2 separate regions of the Homo sapiens genome follow, and region 1 is linked to region 2. The links are contacts of gene promoters, found by promoter capture Hi-C in human tissues and cell types (Jung and others, 2019). All regions are on one chromosome and are shown on one strand. The core of a region is centred on a gene start or on the middle of the fragment in contact, and the rest is flanking DNA. Distances in the headings are between cores, read along the strand shown. Region 1 has its middle 97 kb from the start of SPRY4-IT1. Region 2 holds the start of ARAP3 (ArfGAP with RhoGAP domain, ankyrin repeat and PH domain 3).

Region 1 (3,335 bases), core at 520-3,019, 540 kb before region 2:
GCCTGTGCCCATGGCCCGGAATTCCTCCAGCCTGATTCACGGGCTTTGGTTCTAATGCACTAGAATTCTCCACTGGGCGGGGGCACCAAGAGGATTCTGGACCACAGCGGTCACACCTGCTGCTCACTTCCACCTCTCACATCTGCTGTGAGGCCCACTCCCCACCAGCTCCATCAGCCAGAAGGCTGCTGTGGCTGGGGTTGCGAGAGAAGGGAGGCGGAACACTTCCTATCCCAGGGGCAATTTCAAAATCAACGCATCCCTTGCCGACCCAACGGCAAACCAACTGCTTGTTTAAGGAAATCAGTGGAATGTATGCAATTAATTACAGGGCAAATCTCAAGTCAGACTAAATACTGGAAATCAGGAACCAGAGTCCAAGTCCCTTTCGTGATCGGAAGGGGGAACTTCCCGATTTGATTGCAGAAAGCAATTTACTTCAATTAGCAGTGACATAAACAGAGTGATTGCTTAATAGGAGCACTGAATCTCTAAAAAATAAACAGCCTGAATTGCATCCTTTACCATTATATTAGCAGCATGGGATTGCTTTTCCCAAGACAGGTTTGATTAACTCTTTAGGAACCATCCTCACTCCTAAGCAGATCTCTTCAGAGCTCCTAAAAAGTCTTCACATCATGGTCCTGGCATTTGTTGTGCACCTCGGGCATATATGTTCATCAATTTGCTTGTTGCTTTAACTTTCAAGTCTTTTAATCCTCTATAATCCTGTGAGATATGTATTATTATGCTCATTTTTAACAGAGGGGGAAAATGAGGCTCAGAAAATTCATGGTGGTGATCTTTTCAAATACATACCTAATCATGTCATTCTCCTGCTTAACTTACCCTCGAAAGCCTTCCAAACCCCTCAGCATAGCCTCCAAAGCCCTGTGTGATCTGTTTCTGGCCTACTTCTCCCACCTCTGCTCAAACCACTTCTCCGCTTGCTCACCACATTTTATATTTTCAGGCCACTGCCTGTTTTGCAAGCGCGTCAAGCCCATTCCCATCTCAAGGCCTTTGCACTTGCTGTTCCCTGCGCCTGGAGCACTCTTCCTCCATTTCCAGAACTGACTTCTCAGCTTCCAGGACTCTGTTCAGAGGCTACGTCCTCAGAGAGGAGTTCCCTGTCCGTCCCATGTTCCCCACTCCCTTTCGGCTTTTGACTAACACTTAGCATGATCCAAAATTATCTTGTTTGTTTATAGTTGATGTATTTCTTGTTTGTCTCCCTCCTGGAATATAAGCTCCAGGGCGGCAGAGATCCTGTCTCCTGTTTGTCTTGTTCATTTGCACAGGGTCAAGCATACGGTAGGCAGACAGAAGATATTTGCTTAATAAAGGAAGTATTGTCCCTGCTTTTATACAGATGAGGAAATGGAAGTTGGGAGAAGTTAGGCCATTTCACAAGGTCAAACAGCTGGGAAGCAGCTCCAGGGGATTCACAGGATTCAGACATCGCTTTCTCCCATGCAGCTACACTACTTTTTTGAGGACTCTCCTTTCCTCCCTATTCTCTTCCCCCACCACCTTCTCACCTCCACCCTACCACCCCAGCCCCAGAAAGTAGGCACTCATCCAACCAGCCGGGAGAGCATTAAAATCACAACCACAAAGCAAAATCTCCTCTTCCTGTTTAAACTCCCTCCTGTGGTACTGATGCTTCTTAGCCGGACAGGGTCCCGCTCATTGCAAGAATGTGAATTCTGGAAGTTAAAGATCTTAACACCCCTCTCCCTCTGGCTCCCCACCTTGAAGGATTTAGATACCGAACTGGGCTCCCCTTAGGAAATGCATCCCCGGACTTGGACTGTGGAGGTAGTGGGCAAGATGTTTGGTGAAGCTTTCGCTGCCCTGTGACCCCACCCACCCCACAGCCAAATCCTACCCTTGGCCCAAGCTCCCCACACTGCCCAGTGAATTGGGGCTGTAAACTGGAGGAGGGAAGGCTGGAGAAGCCAAGGTCAGTGGCGGGAGAAGTGCAATGGGAGAAGACCAGGGAGAGGGTGAACACTGAAGAATTTGAGAGATGTGTGAGTGCCCCAGAATTGGGCTGTAGGGAAGTCGGCCTCCCTGAGCAGGCAGCCGTGTCGGGGCTGACCTGAAAGCAGAGGTCTGTCCCTTAGATGCTGGCTGGCTTTGGGGCTCAGAGTCTTCATCTGGTCCCTCCGCAGCATCACCTTCAGGAGAAGTTCAAGTGCAGCTGTCATTGCAGTCCCAGTTTCACTATCCATTCCCTGTGTCTCCTTGAACAGGGCTTTAACCTCTCTGAGGCCACTTCCTGCTTGATAAGGAGACCACATCGCCCACCCTGCTTCATATGCAGATTTCTTTTTTTTTTTTTTTTGAGACGGAGTCTCGCTCTGTTGCCCAGGCTGCAGTGCAATGGCGTGATCTCAGCTCAGTGCAACCTCCACCTCCTGGGTTCAAGTGATTCTCCTGCCTCAGCCTCCTGAGTAGCTGGGATTACAGGTGTGCACCACCACGCCCAGCTAATTTTTGTATTTTTAGTAGAAACGGGGTTTCACCATGTTGGTCAGGCTGGTTTTGAACTCCTGGCCTTGTGATCCACCAGCCTCAGCCTCCCAAAGTGCTGGGATTACAGGCGTGAGCCACCACACCCAACCATATGCAGATTTCAATAGTTTTTTTTTTTTTTTTTTTTTGAGATGGAGTTTCGCTCTTGTTGCCCAGGCTGGAGTGCAATGGCACGATCTTGGCTCACCACAACCTCTGCCTCCCAGGTTCAAGCGATTCCCCTGCCTCAGCTTCCCGAGTAGCTAGGATTACAGGCATGTACCACCATGCCCAGCTAATTTTGTATTTTTAGTAGAGACGGGGGTTTCTCCATGTTTGTCAGGCTGGTCTCGAACTCCCGACCTCAGGTGATCCGCCTGCCTCAGCCTCCCAAAATGCTGGGATTACAGGCATGAGCCACCACGCCCGACCAATAGTTTTATTTATTTATTTTGAGATGGAGTCTCGCTCTGTCACTGAGGCTGGAGTGCAGGGTGCGATCTTGGCTCACTGCAGCCTCTGCCTCCCAGGTTTAAGTAATTCTCCTGCCTCAGCCTCCCAAGTAGCTGGGATTACAGGCATGAGCCACCAAGCCTGGCTAATTTTTGTGTTTTTAGTAGAGATGGGGCTTCGCCATGTTGCCCAGGCGGGTCTTGAACTCCTGGGCTCAAGTGATCCACCACACCCAGCCCAGATTTCAGTAGCTTTAAATAAGAGAACGAATGGGAAAGTGCCCTGGAAGGTTTAAAGTATAAAGTATACTAAGGAGGTACTTTTGTTTTAGCCTAAATGGGAAAGAGACTTTCCCATTAACA
Region 2 (3,336 bases), core at 23-2,522:
TTTGCAAAGCAATGTTTACATAGATCCTGGAGCACGGTCAGCTCTCAATAATTGGTAGCCCTTATTATGGCTATTGCAATTATTATTTTATTACTATAATTCTCTTTCTCAAAGGGAAGGCCGGGAAAGTGGGGCTCCAGTAGGTTGAAGATGACAGTCCCTCCCCTAGCTGAGGCAGCTGGAAGAGGTGGGAACCACTTCCTCCCACTCCCCTCTTCTTCCCCTGAGGCAGGGGTCTTCCCCTAGCTACTGACAGTTCCTGTGTCTGCTGACTCACAGCCAACTTCCTCTCATACAAACAGGAAAACACAGCCGGCCAGCGCCCCCGCCACCCCCAACACATACACACACACACACACACACACACACACACACACACACACACACACACACACAAACACCCCCCCCCCACACCCAAACACTGGTCCTGCTCAGAGAGGGAAGTGCCTCCGCCCCTGGGAGACAGGCTCCAGGACCGGGGTTCCGGCAAGATTAGCGAAGGAGAGAAGGGCCATTCCTCTTCAGGCCTCCCCGGCATCCCCCCTGAAATTTTAGGGTGGGAGTTGGGGAGAAGGGGCGGCTTCTCCCATGAATGAAACAGCTGCTTGCTTGGTCACTGAGCTTGCAGGGCGTCCGCCTGTCCCAAAAAGGCAGCCCCAAACCTTGGTTTGGAAGTAGGGATGTGCCTTGCGGACCTTCATCCCTCGAAGGAACCTAGGCCGGGCCCTTGGGGATGGAAGTGGGGAGAAACAGACGGGTACCCCTCTGCTGGGCCTCTGCGCTTGTTGCCCAGGCCAAGTCTCAATTCTGGATGTCCAGCTTCCGTCCCCACACTAAACTGGTTGCCAGGGTCCAGCCACCCTTCCGGGCGTGGGAGAGGTGCCCTGGGGGATTAGGGCTCGACCTTTCCTCCTCCCTTTTGGCAGGACTGGAGGGCATGGGAGCAGCGGAGAGGATGCAAAGCCGTCCCTGGCACTCTCCCTTTCTCAGTTTCTACCTCCGTCCCAGTCTCCGTCCCGGTCTCTGCCTCTTTGTCCCTCTCCCTGAGGTTGTCTTCGTCCCAACGTGTTCTGGTCCTTTCTCGGCCTGCGAGAGGGCAGACTGGGGGCAGACTCGGAGATAAGCGCGGCGGTTGGGCAAGAAGCCCAAACCCTTTGGAGGCCTGCGCTTGCACAAGGAGTGGCCGGGGCCCCGCGGAGGGAACCGGCCGGGCGGGGCGGGGCTGGGCCCGTCGAGGGAGGGCAGAGGGGAGGCGGGGCCGGCGCGGCGGGACCCAGAACCTCGGACGAGCGGCGGGCACCCGCGAGCGGACGGCGGCCGCGTAGTGAGGTGAGGACCCCCGCGCCCCCCGGGTCCCTGCTTCCCAGACTCCTCCCCATCACCTTCTCGAGGGCCTTCGTGGGCTCCCAGGCCCCCTCGGCGCCGGCGGCCCTCCCCATCCCTGCCACGACCCGCCCCTCCCTCCTGCTGCCCGGCCTCTGCCCCATCCCTCCTCGCCCCCTCCCTCGTCGCAGCCTGCGCTGCCCGCCACTGCCCGCCCCGCCCCCGCCACTCCTGTCCCGCGAGCACCTCAGCTCCCAGCCCCGTGCTGTCGAGCCCGGCCTGAGTCACCGGGAAACCGGGCCCTGAGTCAGGGCCCGAGGCTCAGCACGCGGGCCCTGGCTTGGGAATGAGGCCCAGCTGGAGAGAGGCAGAGGGAGGCCAGCAGTGATGCTGGGACGGAGAGGGCGTCCTGGTCACCGACAGAGCACAAGAGTAACAGGGAGAGAGCCTAGGCCGAGGCGGAAGACAGAAACCCAGGCTCAGAGGCAGACAGAGACACAGATACAACTCAAGATCTGGTTAGAATTGTAGACTGAGTCAAGGACAAGCTTAATAACAGAGAGCAAAACAGGGTGGGACAAGGAGAGGGACAAAGAAGAATTGAGAGGTTGAGATGGAATGGGGCAGGGACAGTGACAAGGCAGAGATAAAACTCAGGGGCCACAGAATTAGAGACAGGTCTATGAAATAGACCAGGGTCAGGGTCGGGGTCAGGCTGGTGGAAGGGGGACAGAGCACAGAGACCTGAGCCCAAGGGAATGAGCAGGGAAAAGGCAAGCTCAGAAAAGGAAGGCTTGGAGAAAGCAGAGGTGGGGGGATGGCATTTCACACTGCCAAATCGCTACAGGGCATGTGCACACACAGGTGAACAGCATGTGAACATGCTGCCGGTGGGCAGAGAGTCCAGAAGCCTCTGGAGTACCCCTGACCAGAGGTCAGGCCTCATCTCTCTGGCATCCCCATCCTTATTCTTCAATTAGCCTCCACCCAGGGCCGGGACCCCACACATTAGGACTGGTTAGGGCTCTCCCGGCAGCCTGACCAAAGCAGGCAGGATGTGGAGGCGGCCAGGGCTGGAGGGACAGGAAGGAAGTCTGAGCAGAGACAATAGGTGGAAGGGGAGGAGGGACTGGGAACAACCAGGATTAGGACGGCAGGCCTGCATACATCGGCTCTGGAAACAAGAGGGAGGGGGCGTCTGCACCTCCTTCCTCCTATCTAGGCTGCCCCTCTCCCTACCTTACTCCAGAGCTGATTGGCCACATCATTGGCCCCTCCTCTGCATCTCCCTATCCCACTCTGACCCACAGCATTCTAGCATCTTGTCCCATGCTTACTCAGTTGGATGTGCAGTCAGGCAGGAGCAGAGCTTTGACCCAGACCCAGGGTGGGCAGGAACTGAGGGGCCAACTCTAGCACTGACTTACTGTGAACCTGGGGCAAGCCCCTTCCCCTCTCTGGGCCTCAGTTTCCTTAACTTCAAATGAAGTCCCTTCCCTAAGTAGAGAGCCATTGCTGTTGTTCTGGGATGGCTCTGCTTCCAGATCGCAGGCCTTTCAGCATCTTTCTTTGGAGGAAGATTGGAGGCTGGTGCTCACTGTCCAGGCCTCAGACTCTGGGGCAGAGAGGGGGATTCTCAGCCTGAGCCCTCCCTTCACCCTGCCCCTCCCCCCAGCAATGGCCTGAGCCCCCATGGCTGCCCCTCAGGACCTGGACATCGCTGTGTGGCTGGCCACGGTGCACCTGGAGCAGTATGCAGACACGTTCCGACGGCATGGCCTGGCTACAGCAGGTGCAGCCCGGGGCCTGGGCCACGAGGAGTTGAAGCAGTTGGGCATCAGCGCCACAGGGCACCGGAAACGCATTCTACGCCTGCTACAGACAGGCACCGAAGAGGGCTCCCTGGATCCCAAATCAGATAGTGCCATGGAACCATCCCCCAGCCCAGCCCCGCAAGCCCAGCCCCCTAAGCCCGTGCCGAAGCCCAGGACCGTGTTTGGTGGACTCAGTGGC

What was found. Contacts are between HindIII fragments. The study calls those that stand out against the background at their distance.
Region 1: a contact is called between a fragment that was not itself captured here and the fragment with the promoter of ARAP3 in region 2, in 2 of the 25 tissues and cell types used here (pancreas and spleen).

Annotation. Positions count from the first base shown.
Region 1 is chr5:142,219,408-142,222,742 of GRCh38, reverse strand. No RefSeq gene overlaps it. Among named protein-coding and RNA genes, the nearest start is that of SPRY4-IT1, 97 kb to the left of the region's middle. The HindIII fragment of the contact is 6,422 bases long and covers 1-3,335 here.
Region 2 is chr5:141,680,166-141,683,501 of GRCh38, reverse strand. ARAP3 (ArfGAP with RhoGAP domain, ankyrin repeat and PH domain 3) reads left to right here and starts at 1,272. Exons shown (of 33, transcript NM_022481.6): 1 at 1,272-1,329; 2 at 2,999-3,336. The coding sequence starts at 3,016. RefSeq lists a silencer at 1,223-1,272. The HindIII fragment of the contact is 12,570 bases long and covers 1-3,336 here.